2 separate regions of the Homo sapiens genome follow, and region 2 is linked to region 1. The links are contacts of gene promoters, found by promoter capture Hi-C in blood cells and fetal thymus (Javierre and others, 2016). All regions are on one chromosome and are shown on one strand. Each heading gives the region's core, a stretch centred on a gene start or on the middle of the fragment in contact. The rest is flanking DNA. Distances are from core to core; before and after follow the strand shown. Region 1 holds the start of ADAMTSL2 (ADAMTS like 2). Region 2 overlaps SARDH (sarcosine dehydrogenase).

Region 1 (6,365 bases), core at 363-2,862:
AAGGCTCTGGTTCGAAGGGATGGGCCTGGGCTCAGTCCAGCGCCTTGGCAGGAGCACCTTGGGATTTTAACTGGCTCAGCTCTTGCTGGCCTCGCAGGAGAATGGCCTCTGCCACTGGCTGCTAGGGTCAGTGCATGGGGATGGGCTTGGCCAGGTCCCGGGGGAATGTGCAGCCTCGCCCTAGACCAGCAGCTCCACAGTCAGCATCCAGCAACAGCCGGCACTCAGGTGAGGCAGAACCCAGGTACCTATGCCGCCTCCCGATCCCCGGAGAGAAGATGGAATTGGGGGAGGGGCAGGGCAGGAGGAGGTGCAGTTTGTGCCAGCATGTCAGCAGTCCAGGGCCACAAGGCTGACTTCCTCCCAACAGCCAGCACCCTTGGCTCAAAACACCTGCCAGGGGTCAAAGCAAGCCCATTGGAAGGGACTGTCCAGCCTCCAGGCCCTCAGCTCTCCCCACCCCCTCCTCAGCGTCGACCCTGCCCTGTGGAAGGGAAGACCAGAGATCCACCATGACCTCTGTCCAGGCCTTGCTCAGGTGCTGAGGGTCACTTGCCAGCGAGTTAGAGAAGGGATTTCAGAAACCACGCAGCCTGCACTCATAACCTGGAGCCCAGAGAGGGGAGCCAACCTGCTCAAAGCCACACAGCAAGGTAGCACACTAGCAAACTCAGGGACTCGACCCCCACGCCTGGCCAATTCCAGGGGAAGAAGGCATGGAGGTCACCCCTCACCCCTGCCAGGCCAGAGGCCAACTCGGGCTCTGCCCCTCCCTCCTCAGCAGCCTCCATCCAACTTGAAGAGTTTCCTTGCAGGCCCGGCACCTGCAGATTTTCAGGGGCCACTCCAAGGACACCACTGCAGCCCGGACGACGCAGCAGTGCACCCTGGAGTGGGGAGCCTGAGTCTGACCTCCCCTGCCCCCGCCGCCTGCCCCCCACCTCCCTCCCCTGCAGACCTCCATCTGCACTCTCAGCCTCACACCCACAGGAGCCCCCTCCACTGTGCCATTGGCTAACGGGTGCCCCAGCCTCTGCCTGCCGGCTGAAGACAGGTGCCAGCCGGCCTCACACTTGCTTTTTTCATTAAGGCTTCCAGACACCACTGGCTTCTGGCCAGGCCTCGCTCACGGGGATCCATCCCTCCCTGGGGTCCAAAAGCAGCGGCTGGCGGCAGCAGAGAGGTCTGCCGTGCACACAGAGCTCCGGGCGCACAAGGCTAGGTGCTGGGAGGCCACCCTGCCCCGTGCTCTGCGGCCCGACCCCTCCCCACAAGCCTCCCCACGTTATGTAACGGCTCCAGAGGGCGCGGGGTGCTCCTACCCCCAGCCCCACTCTGAGCAGTGGGCTGGCCTGGTGGACGCTGCAACGTGAGGGGGACGGGGACGAGGTGGCCTACCTGGCTTCGGGTCAGCAGGTTGTCCTCCCAGAGAAAGGGGCGAGCGCTGCGGAGGGCAGACGGCGCCAGGTGCGCTGTGCGTGCGGGGGCGGCGTGAGTGCAGAGGCTGCGGCCCGGCCTCCCTCTCCCCTTCCCCTCCTCCCCCGCGCCGCCTCCCTCTCCCACTTCAAAGAGCATCCAAGAGAGGGGGTTCCCGGGAGGGGCGCAGCCCAGTGGCGGCTCTGCGCCGGCGGCCGCCTTTATAGCTGTCAGGCAGACGGGGAGGAACACTCACACTTCCCACCAGGCCGCTCCCCCGCCCGCGCCGGCCGGCCTGGCGCACACTTTAACCCGCTCTGCGCCTCTGGAGCCCGGCCAGGCCGGCCCAGCTGCCTGTTGGCTGCTGCCGGCGGCGGCGGCCCAGGAGCGGCGAGCAGGGAGGCCTTCTTCCCGGGTCCAGAACTGGGGGCCACATGTCGGGTGTCCAGACGGAGCAGCCGCTGGCCTGAGGTTACCGGGGAGGCTGGCGGTGGCAAAGCCCCAGCCCCGCCTGTCCGGCTTCTGCCTCCAGAGCGGGCCCTGTCCCTGGGGCTCCTGAGAATGGGGTCTGGGATGTATGAGGTGTCCCGTCTGATGGCTCCGTTGTACGGAGGGAAAGGCTGAACTTCCGGGACGACCGTGCCCCAGGTCACGAGCCTCAGAAAGCTCCCGAGATGCAGGGGCCTAAGCAGGTGGAGGGACGCAGGGAGACCCAGCGAGAATGAACCAAGGGCTCCAGGGAGGAGACAGATGTGCCCGTGGCCTGCTGACCAGATGGCTAGAGCAGCCAGGGCCAGGGCAGAGAGGCTCAGGGATTCTGCAGATGTCCAGCACCAACTTGGCAGCCCCTGGCAGGCCAGGCCTGGAGCTCAAGCCTCTGTTCCTGCTGAGTCAGGGCACAGAGGGGAGCGAGAGTGGGTGGAGCAGCAGAGCCCCCCTGGGAAACTCCCGGCGGGCCCCAGACTTTGTGAGGCTTTCCTAAAGCAAGGCTGGGCACCTAGCCTCTGCACACCAGCTTCCCCAGAGCCCATCCTCGGCAAACAGAGGCACCTCCAAAAAGGGGAGGAGGAGGAAGCTGGGGCACCATTCCATCAGGTCATCTGTGTCTTTTCATCCATGCCCCTGCCTCCATGCAGCAGATGTCCTGGGCCCACAGCAGTGCCGGGAAGACACTTCTCCTTCCCTCTGTCCTCCCTGCTGGAAGAAACTTGTGAGTTCCTTCAGCTGCCTTCATGAGAAAGTTCTGCCCTGTGTCTGACCACCCACCAGAAAGGCTGGGAAGGAAAGCCACCAGTAATAGTAGTGAAAGCGATAATACCGTCTGCCCTCTGTCCAGCTTGTCCTACGGGCCCAGAGCTGTGAGGCCAGATCCACCTTTATGATCTGCATTTCACAGGTGGAAGAACTGAGGTTCGGGGACCAAGTCACCTCTCCAGTAGGCAAGGCTGGGATGCCAGCGCTCCTGAGTGTCGGGTTCTCTCCTCTGCCGGGTTGTTTAAGTTTCTCTCCCCGGGACCCTCGGGCAGGCAAGTCTTATTCATCTCATTCTCCTGCTGGGGCAACTGGGATGCAAGGTGGCTGCTCCTAGTCACAGGGCCACCTGCGGTGTGGAACCAGGACTAACCCTAACCCTAACCCAGGCCCACACTGCCCCCTGGGGTCGCTGTGCTGAATCACAGACATGGTGGCACCTGTCACCCAGCACACACACACACACACACACACACACACACACAGGCACACACACACCCAGTCCCTCTCACATGACCGGATTACACTCGCTCTGGGTGCCTCTGCCATCCCCTTCCTCTCTCTTCTGGTGACCGCCAGGCCTCGCACCCCTTGGCACAGTCCCCGAGCTCTCCTGGCGTTTGTGGCCTCACATCCAGCCAGCGCCAGGGTGACTAACGGTTTCCCTTGGGAGGGACCCCACAGCCGACCAACACAAACACCCCCAGTGTCTTCTCTTGGCTCAGCAGGACGGCACAGGCTGCAGGCTGGCCACCTGGGAGACGGGTCTGTGGGGCCAGCCATCCCCTGGCTCTGTGACCTCCTGCAGGTGTGTGACCCTCCAGGCCCCAGCTCCCCTGGCCAGCCACACTTCCACACCACCCCCACCCCTTACCCCAGAGCCTGCAGACTTGAGGCCCACAGGGAGCCATGACTGGCACGTAGCAGGTGCTCTGGTAGCTCCTGATGCCAGGGGCTCCTTACCCCTTAGAGAGTGCTGTTGAGGTGAGTCCCCCACTCTCCAGGATCCCTCTTCGGCCTGCAAATTCCCGGCCTCTCAGGGCCTTCCCCATGTAGGATGGTCTCAGCCCACACCTACCGGCACTTGTAGGGGTGTTGCAGCCGTATGGCCCTGGTGCTGGAGACACCACCTGCCTTTAGAAGGGGATTGTTGGCCAGGCGCAGTGGCTCATGCCTATAATCCCAGCAGTTTGAGAGGCTGAAGCAGGGGGATCACACGAGGTCAGGAGTTTGAGACCAGCATGGCCAACATGGTAAAATCCTGTCTCTACTAAAAATACAAAAATTAGCTGGGCGTGGTGGCGGGCACCTGTAATCCCAGCTACTCGGAAGGCTGAGGCAGGAGAATTGCTTGAACCTGGGAGGTGGAGGTTGCAGTGAGCCGAGATCTCGCCGCTGCCCTCCAGTCTGGGTGAAAGAGTGAGATTCCGTCTCAAAAAGAAAAAAAGAGAGAGAAAAAAAAGAAGGGGATTTTCTCCGCCAGTGTTTTCCAGATATCTGAGGAGCTTAGAAATAGGACAGCAGGAATATGTGTGGGGGATGCCCGGGAGGGTGGGGTTCCAGGGAAAACACGGCGGGGATAGAGAAGCAGGCTTGAGGCAGAGGGGCTGGTGGGCCGTGGCTGACCACTTTGGAGGTTCCCTGGGGAGGATGTTAGGCTGCCGCAGTGGGAGCAGGGCCTGTCCTCACAGCAAAGTGGCCACAGCAGGCTCGGGAGTTTAAGGACGTGGCCCGAGCTGTCGAGGTGGGTCCCCTCTCTGTCACCCAGAGGCCTAGCAGGCCTGGCAAATGTATGTGTGTAGTGTGGTTCACCTAGCCGATAGGGCTGGCCGGCCACAGCCTCAAGAGTGGCCCACCAATACCACCTTCCCTGGCATCCTGCGGTTCTTCTCTGTTGCCAGCCCAGGACCCAGAACATCCTAGGAGCCTCCTGGGCAGACCCAGCCAGAGTTCTCACACCTGACTGGGACGGGGCCACCAAGGGACCATGTGGCCAGCTGGGAGGTGGCTGGCAGCCCCGGAAGAGGACCAGGACTCAGAAGGCAGCCCCAGGGAAAGAGCGAGGGGGCCTCAGCAACCCCAAGAGCCGTCCCTGTCCCCGAGCTTCCTTCCTGGCCCAGGATAGAAGCCAGCTGTCCCTGAGACCCCCCTGGGGCTGGATATACGGGAAGAGCCTCCCCCGCCTTCCCTGGCTGGTCCCAGGTCCATGCACGACCACTGGCTGGCCAGGTCACTTCAGGCCACTTGTCCCTGACAGGCCGAGTTTCCTGGTCTGTTGCACAAGGTCAAGGTCCTTTTTTAGCCCCAGACATCTCACAGGCACACTCAAGAGACAACTGAGACAAAAGCAGAGGTGGGGGCTCCTGCTTCCCCTCTTCTCCCCAGCAGCCCTGAGGCCCCTTCTGGGCACCAGGACTCCTGGAAGCATCATCTGAAAGCTGGCGGACCGGAAGAACCCCAGCCCCCAGCAGCCCCTCGGGCTCTGCTCGCACACGGCCATGACCTCCAGAGATGCCCCGTGTCAGGGATATCTGCTGGGGGCAGGAGGACATCACCAAGCCAGTGAGCTCTTTCTTCCATGCCACCCACAGTGACCAGGGGCGGGCAGCCACTGGTGTCACAGCCAGGTGAAGCAGGAAACCCAGGACCTTGGATCCCGACACTCAGAAGGGCCCCGTCTCAGAGGCTTAGCGTGGAGGCTCAGCATAGGAAGCAGCAGCTCTTCCAATAGCACAGCAACAGCAGCCTCACGCGTGAGTGCCTGGAACCGGACTCTTTGGGTTCAAATCCTGACTCCGTCTCTCTCCAGCTGGGTGACTTTGGGCGAGGGCAGAAGCTTCTCTGTGCCTCAGCTTCCTCACCTGTAAAGTGGCGGTGATAAGGCACTCCCCATGCTGGACTCTTGTGAGGCTGAAATGAGTCCATATGGGAGAAGGGCCTGGGATGGTGGTGGAGAAAGGAAGGGCTGCACGTGCTTTGCTCTGAGCCCAAAGGGTAGCCCGGGGCCAGTGTCTACTCTGCTGTCATCCTCCATCCTGACAATGCCACATCAGGTAACACTGCCACGCCCAGACAGAGAAGGAAGCTGAGGCCAAGGCTTGGACCCCGCCTGAGTCCAAGTGGACTTTCTCAGCCTGGCCAACTTTCTCACATTGTCTCTCGAGTGTGCCTGTGAGATGTCTGGGGCTAGGATGGGGTGCCTGTCATTGGTCCAGGATGGGGTGCACCTGGGTCCCAGGAGAGCCCAGAGCAGCAGGACGTGCTCAGCCTCCCCACCAGGACCAGCAGCGGGACCCTCCCCGATGGCCTCCACTGCTGTTCCTGGAGCCCAGGGCCTTGCGAGCCCTGACTCAGCTTCTCCTTTCCCTGCAAGCCCAGGGATGTGGTGCCCAAGAGGGGCAAGTTTCCACGTAGAGAGGCAAGCTGGGGCAGACAAGAGGCTGGGACCAACAGGGACGCAGGGCCTGCAAAGGGGTCAGGAGCAGCCTTTGGTTCACTGAGAGGTGTGGGTCTGGGCTGGCCTGCTCTCCGTCCTCCCAGCACACACACAGGACTCCGATTCCCCTCTGGGAGTGCTCCCTGCCAACATCAACCCTGCTGTGGCTCAGCCCACGGGTGGAGAATGGACATCCCTGGGTGGTACACCTATGCCCCCGATCAGAGCCTGCCCTGAGGAGGGGACTGCAGCCCCCAGGGGT
Region 2 (6,773 bases), core at 2,924-5,423, 180 kb before region 1:
GTTTATTTATTTTATTTTATTTTTTTGAGACAGCGTCTCGCTCTTTTGCCCAGGCTGGAGTGCAGTGGTGTGATCTCTGCTCACTGCAAGCTCTGCCTCCTGGGTTCATGCCATTCTCCTGCCTCAGCCTCCCGAGTAGCTGGGACTACAGGTGCCTGCTACCACGCCTGGCTAATTTTTTGTATTTTTTAGTAGAGACAGGGTTTCACCACGTTAGCAAGGATGGTCTCGATCTCCTGACCTTGTGATCCACCCGCCTTGGCCTCCCAAAGTGCTGGGATTACAGGCGTGAGCCACCATGCCTGGCAGAAGAAGGTTTATTTCTCGACTCTCAATTCTAATCCATTGATCTGTAGGTCTATCCTTACTTAGTACCTCACTGTCTTGATTATGTAGCTTTGCAGTAAGTTTGGTATCAAGAAGTGTGAATCCTCCAACTTTGTTTTTCCTTTTCAAAATTGTTTTGGGTATTCTTGGTCCCTTGCATCTCTGTATGAACTTTAGGGTCAGCTATTTAATTTCTTCAAAGAAACTAGCTGAGATTCTGACAGGCATTGTGTTGAAGCTATGGATCAATTTGGGGTGTGTTGTCAGCTTAACAAAAATAAGTCTTTCATTTCATGAACGTGAGATGTCCTTCTATTTATTTAGGTCTTCTTTAATTTCTTTCGAAAGTATTTTCTAGTTTTTAGAGTACAAGTTTTGCAATTCTTTTGTCAAATTTGTTCCTAAGCATATTTATTATTTTTGATGATATTGTAAATGAAATTATTTCTTAACTTCCTTTTCAGATTATTCAATGCTAGAGTATAGAAATATATTAGTTTTTTGGCTGAGCCCAGTGGCTCATGCCTATAATCCCAGCACTTTGGGAAGCTGAGGTGGGTGGATTGCTTGAGGTCAGGAGTTCAAGACCAGCCTGGCCAACATGGTGAAACCCTGTCTCTACTAAAAACACAAAAATTAGTCAGGCATGGTCCCAGCTACTCGGTAGGCTGAGGCAGGAGAATCACTTGAACCCAGGAGGTGCAGGTTGCAGTGAGTTGAGATGGCACCACTGCACTCTAGCCTGGGCGATAGAGCAGGACTCTGTCAGAAAGAAAGAGAGAAAGAGAGAGAGAGAGAGAGAGAGAGAGAGAGAGAGAGCGCTAGTAGTTTTTTAGTGGTTTCCTTAGGATTTTGTATATACAAGACCTTGTTATCTGCAAATAGGAATATTTTTACTTCTTCTTTTTCAATCTGGGTGCCTTTTATTACTTTTGCTGCCTAATTGCTGCCCTGGCTAAAACCTCCAATGTAATGTTGGGTAGAAGGGGTAAGAATGGATATCTTTCTCTAATTCCTGATCTTGGGGGGAAATCAGCCATCCTTCTTCCTTGAAGTATCACATTCCATGTGGGTTTTTGTAGATACCCTTCAGCACTTTGAGGAAGTTCCCTTCTTCCAAGTTTGTTAAGTGTTTGTTGAGGCTTTAAAAAAAAAAATCATTAAAGATGTTGGATTCTGTCAAATGCTTCTCATGCATCTACTGGGATGATTACGTGGTTTTTGTCCTGTACTTTGTTGATGTGGGGTATTCTATTGATTGGTTTTCATACATTATACCAAACTTGCCTTCCTAGGATAAATTCCAGTTGGCCATGGTGTTTTGTTTTGTTTTGTTTTGTGTTTTTGAGACAGAGTGAGACTCTGTTGCCCAGGCTGGAGTGCAGTGGTGTGATCTTGGCTTACTGCAACCTTCGCTTCCTGGGTTCAAGCAAATTCTCCTGCCTCCACTCCTGAGTAGCTGGGATTACAGGCATGTGCCACGACACCCAGCTGATTTTTGTATTTTTAGTAGAGTTGGGGTTTCACCATGTTGCCAAGGCTGGTCTCGAACTCCTGACCTCAAATGACCCTCCCGCCTTGGCCTCCCAAAGTGCTGGGATTACAGGCATGAGCCACCACGTCCAGTCTGGCCATGGTGTATCATCTCTCTTATATATTGCTGGATTCAGTTTGCTATTGTTTTGTTGGGGGTATTTGCATGTGTATATATAACTGTCACTATTTTTCCCCAGTTGTGTCAAGGGATCTGTCAAACATATTGATACTATTGATACTATTTTCTGAATACGCACACACATCAGATAAACCACCTAACGCCCCCAAGTCCCATTTCCCTCCCCTGGAGGACTTCCTGCTGCCTTCAGATCTTCCGCTCCCTTTTGGACTGACCGCTGCATGGTCTAAGCTGTCACTCCAGGGCCTTCTTCACGCCTCCCCGCTGGAGCCATGGCTTTCACTCTTTCTGGGTTTATTTTCTTCCTTTTGTCACAGCGTGTTCTCTGGCTGTTTACTGCAAAGGAGTACGAGAGAAGTATATGTTTTGTGTCCATGAATGTCTGAAAAAGCTTTTATTCTTTGCTTACACTCGATTGATGGCTTGACAGGATCTAGAATTCTGTGTTGAAAATCATCCATTAGACGTTTGAAGAGTTTGCTCCATGTCTTCCAGCCTCCAGCGATGCAGTCCCCTGTTGATGGCCCTCCTGGCCATCCGGTGTTGTGATGTTTCCCACGGCGTGGCCTTGGTGCAGGCCTCTGTCCAGACTCAGGGCTTGGTGGGCACTCTTGGGCCCTTCCATATGAATGCGTGATTTTCAATCGGAGGACTCTTCTTGGGCTGTTGCTTGGACATTTTTCTCGACTCCATTTTTCTCTGTCTTCTCTTTCTGGAACCGCTGTAAAATGGATGTTGAACTTTCAAGACGGACCTTCTGATATTCTTATTTTTTTTCCACTCCTGATTTCTGTTTTGTTGTCTTTTTCTTTTAGCCTAATCGCTGGATGATGGCCCCAGCCTTATCTGGCCCTTCCATTGAATTTTAAATTTTGACTATCATATCTCATTTAAAGACCTCTTTCTTCATCTTAGATTCCTTTCTCATAGCACTGTCTGTCACTCTGATACAGTTTGGCTGTGTCCCCACCCAAAGCTCACCTTGAATCGTAATAATCCCCATGTGTCAAGGGTGGGGCCAGGTGGAGATAATTGAATCATGGGGTGGTTTCCCCCATACTGTTCTCATGGTAGGGAATAAGTCTCAGGAGATCTGATGGTTTTATAAAGGGAGTTCCCCTGCACATGCTCTCTCTCTCTTTCCTGCTGCCATGTAAGACATGCCTTTGCTCCTCATTTGCCTTCCACCATGATTGTGAGGCCTCCCCAGCCATGTGGAACTGTGAGTCCATTAAACCTCTTTCCTGTATAAATTACCCAGTCTTGGGTATGTCTTTATTAGCAGCGTGAGAACACACTAATACACCATCTTCTTGTATTCCTGATGTTCTTGTTGTGGTTTGTGGTTATTTATTTATGAGACAGAGTTTCACTCTTGTTGCCCAGGCTGGAGTGCAATGGTGCAATCTTGGCTCACTGCAACCTTCGCCTCCCAGGTTCAAGCCATTCTCCTGTCTCAGACTCCTGAGTAGCTGGGATTACAGCTGCCCACCACCACGCCCGGTTAATTTTTTGTATTTTTAGTAGAGATGGGGTTTCACCATGTTGGCCAGGCTGATTTTGAACTCCTGACCTCAGGTGATTCACCCATGTCGGCCTCCCAAAGTGCTGGGATTACAGGTGTGAGCCACAGTGCCTGGCCTGTGGTTTTGTTTTATTTATTTATTTATTTATTTTGAGACGGAGTCTTGCTCTGTCACCCAGGCTGGAGTGCAGTGGCACGATCTCGGCTCACTGCAAGCACCACGTTCTGGGTTCACGCATTCTCCTGCCTCAGCCTCCCGAATAGCTGGGACTACAGGCGCCCGCCACCACGCCCAGCTAATTTTTTGTATTTTTAGTAGAGACGAGGTTTCACCATATTAGTCAGGATGGTCTTGATTTCCTGACCTCGTGATCTGCCTGCCTTGGCCTCCCAAAGCACTGGGATTACAGGTGTGAGCCACCGTGCCTGGCCTGTGGTTTTGTTTTTAGGAGAGAGTGAGCAGCAGTGTGATTGGAGGCTTGGAGGGGAGGACTGGAGAGCCTCTCAGGAAGGGTGGGCGGCAAGCCTTTCGCTTTTAGAGAGACCCTGGTGTCAACATCTCAAGCCTTCCCTGGGCCTCTCAGTGTCTCACAGAAGAGTCTCCAATCTGCTCCTGGGGTGGGGGGGTGGGGGGATGGCAGTCCACTCTCCCCACTTCTGGAGCCTCTCAGGACCCACCTCTCCAGAGGAAGATCCTTCCATACATGAGCAAGCGCATCACCCCCTGAAGAGGGACCTGGGGTGGCTCTGAAGATTCAAGAGGAGGCAGGAGGGGCACACTGGCTTGCCTTGCTCAGTCTCCCTCTCCTCCAGCCCCAGCTAAGTCTCACCCCTCCTCCATCCACTCTGCGTCCTCCAGGGTTGGTTGGAATCTCCCATCCTCTACTGCTGCCTCTGCCTGTTCTCTCATCTTTGTCGGTTATATGTTTTGCTTCCCTCCCTTCCTCCCTTGCTCTCTTCCTCGATCCATTCCTTCTTCCTTCTTCCCCTTTTGCTGTTATTTTATGGGATTTGGGGAAGGAGAGGCTTGAATGGCAGTGACCCATTCACTGTGTGTAACTTGAGGCCCCGTGTCCACTCTGTCCTCGGGGTCCTACAACGAGAAGGACCATCTCGAGCCCGTGACCCTGGGTGGAGGTGCTGGCCCACCACGGGGCATGGGGAACCAAGTCCCCACCCAGTTCTGGATGATGCCAAGGCCTCTCTCTCTGCCTTCCAGAACATGCCCAATGTCCGTGATCATGATGCCTCTGTCTACCTCCGCCTCCAAGGGGATGCCTTGTCTGTGGGTGGCTATGAGGCCAACCCCATCTTTTGGGAGGAGGTAAGATGCCAGGGCCCTGGGATAATGGGAGGGAGTTGGGGCTGCATCTCAGCATGGAGAGGGCCTCTTTCAGGAAGTCCATCCTCCTGAAGCTCCTCAGAGGCACACCTGAGAAGTGGCCGGTCCCCTGACCCCACCAAGCTCAAAGCCATCTTGCTCTTACCCTGACGGTCCTGGCAGGCAGTCAAATACAGACCCAGGGCAGCTGGAGGGCTTTGCCTCAAAACATCCACAGAGAAGGTCTGCGCAGTGTGGAGTGATGACCTCAGAAGGGCATGAGAGCACACAAGTCCTACGTCCTTCAGCAAATGACACTGCCCTCCCAACCAGCTGCTGCAGCGGCATTTCCCCTGGCCTGGGCTGTTTCCCGGGCAGCTTCTGGGGTTAGGGCAGCCCTGCAGCCCTGTTCTATGTGTATATGCATTTAGTCCACACATGGAACGACTGAGTGGCTACTTTGGGCTAAAAACTGCTTTAATTTCTGGAGAAAGAGGGAAACTAAGATAAAAGTCCCTGACTCTGGGTGCCTATATTTTGGTGGAGAGACATACAATAAACAAACAAATGGCTGGGCACGGTGGCTCACACCTGTAATCCCAGCACTTTGGGAGGCTGAGGTGGGCGGACCACCTGAGGTCAGGAATTTGAGGCCAGCCTGGCCAACATGGTGAAATCCCAACTCTACTAAAAATACAAAAATTAGCCAGGTGTGGTGGCGGGCACCTGTAATCCCAGCTACTTGGGAGGCTGAGGCAGGAGAATCACTTGAACCCGGGAGATGGAGGTGGCAGTGAGCCGAGATCGCACCACTTTACTCCAGCCTGGGTGACAGAGTGAGACTGTTACAAACAAACAAACAAACAAATGAACAAGGAATGAAATTCTGGAAGATGATCGCGCACTGAATAAAATTAGCAGGTTAAGGATCAGCCTAGAGAGACTGGAGCAGAAGGATATCCTTTAGATGGGTGGTCAGGGCAGGGTTTTTCAGGGAGGGGACATCCAAGCAGAGCCCTGCACCGCGACAACAAACCAGCGTGCCAGGTCTGGGTGAAGAACTGCCCCATTGAGGGGTGAAGGCCTTGAGCTCACACAAGCTTGCTCTTCCCAAAGAGCTGCAGGAAGGTCAGGGTGGCGGGCCCAGTGGTAGAGGTAGGCAGGCTGGCACATGCCATACAGGGCTTTGGGGCCATCGTGAGCTGCAGGGGGCCAGAGGAGGCTTGTGAGTAGGGAAGGGGCATGGTGGGATCTAGGGGAGTGGGTGGAGGCCTGGGCTGGGGTGGGGAGGGGGAGCAGACAGACCTTGCTGATGGGTTGGTGGGTGGGGGAGACAAACGGCTGGGACGTGTGGGTGACCACCAGCCCTCTAATGCATCTGATTCAGCAGAGGCTGGCCTGGCAGCCATCACAAGGCAGGTTTGGCATGGGGATGCATGGCCTTCTTGGGGACAACGGAGATGTTCCCCTGCCCTGCCTTGGCAGGTGTCAGACAAGTTTGCCTTCGGCCTCTTTGACCTGGACTGGGAGGTGTTCACCCAGCACATTGAAGGCGCCATCAACAGGGTCCCCGTGCTGGAGAAGACAGGAATCAAGTCCACGGTCTGCGGCCCTGGTGAGTGACAGCCTCGGAGCTGGGGTGGGCGTCCATGGGTCCTTTGGTCTGATGACTGTTAGTAGTGATGCCCCGTGAGACCAGCCTGTGTCACACAGGGGACCCAGGGCTGTCCCCGGTCCCTCTCGCTGCTTGGCTCCAGCAGCCCTGGGTACTAGGTGTGGCCTTTATTCCCCTCTACGGGCGAGAGGCCTGGGCTTCACAAGGGCCATCATCTGCCCCAAGCACGAGGCCAGGGCCTCCTCCTGCCTCAAGGGTGGCTGGTCCTGGCTTCCCCACCTGGGCTTCTTCATCCCTAGACTTGACTTGT

Evidence for each region. Contacts are between HindIII fragments. The CHiCAGO score rates a contact against its expected background, and 5 or more counts as called.
Region 2: a contact is called between a fragment that was not itself captured here and the fragment with the promoter of ADAMTSL2 in region 1, in 4 of 17 cell types (fetal thymus, activated CD4 T cells, naive CD4 T cells and 1 more). The highest score is 6.7, in fetal thymus.

The regions. Positions count from the first base shown.
Region 1 is chr9:133,529,951-133,536,315 of GRCh38, reverse strand. ADAMTSL2 (ADAMTS like 2) reads right to left here and starts at 1,612. Exons shown (of 19, transcript NM_014694.4): 1 at 1,399-1,612. RefSeq lists enhancers at 42-583, 1,124-1,665, 1,666-2,205, 2,206-2,747, 5,842-6,347 and a silencer at 3,006-3,095. The HindIII fragment of the contact is 12,534 bases long and covers 1-5,505 here.
Region 2 is chr9:133,717,016-133,723,788 of GRCh38, reverse strand. SARDH (sarcosine dehydrogenase) reads left to right here. Exons shown (of 21, transcript NM_001134707.2): 7 at 4,747-4,851; 8 at 6,334-6,463. Among named protein-coding and RNA genes, the nearest start is that of SARDH, 18 kb to the left of the region's middle. The HindIII fragment of the contact is 3,555 bases long and covers 2,396-5,950 here.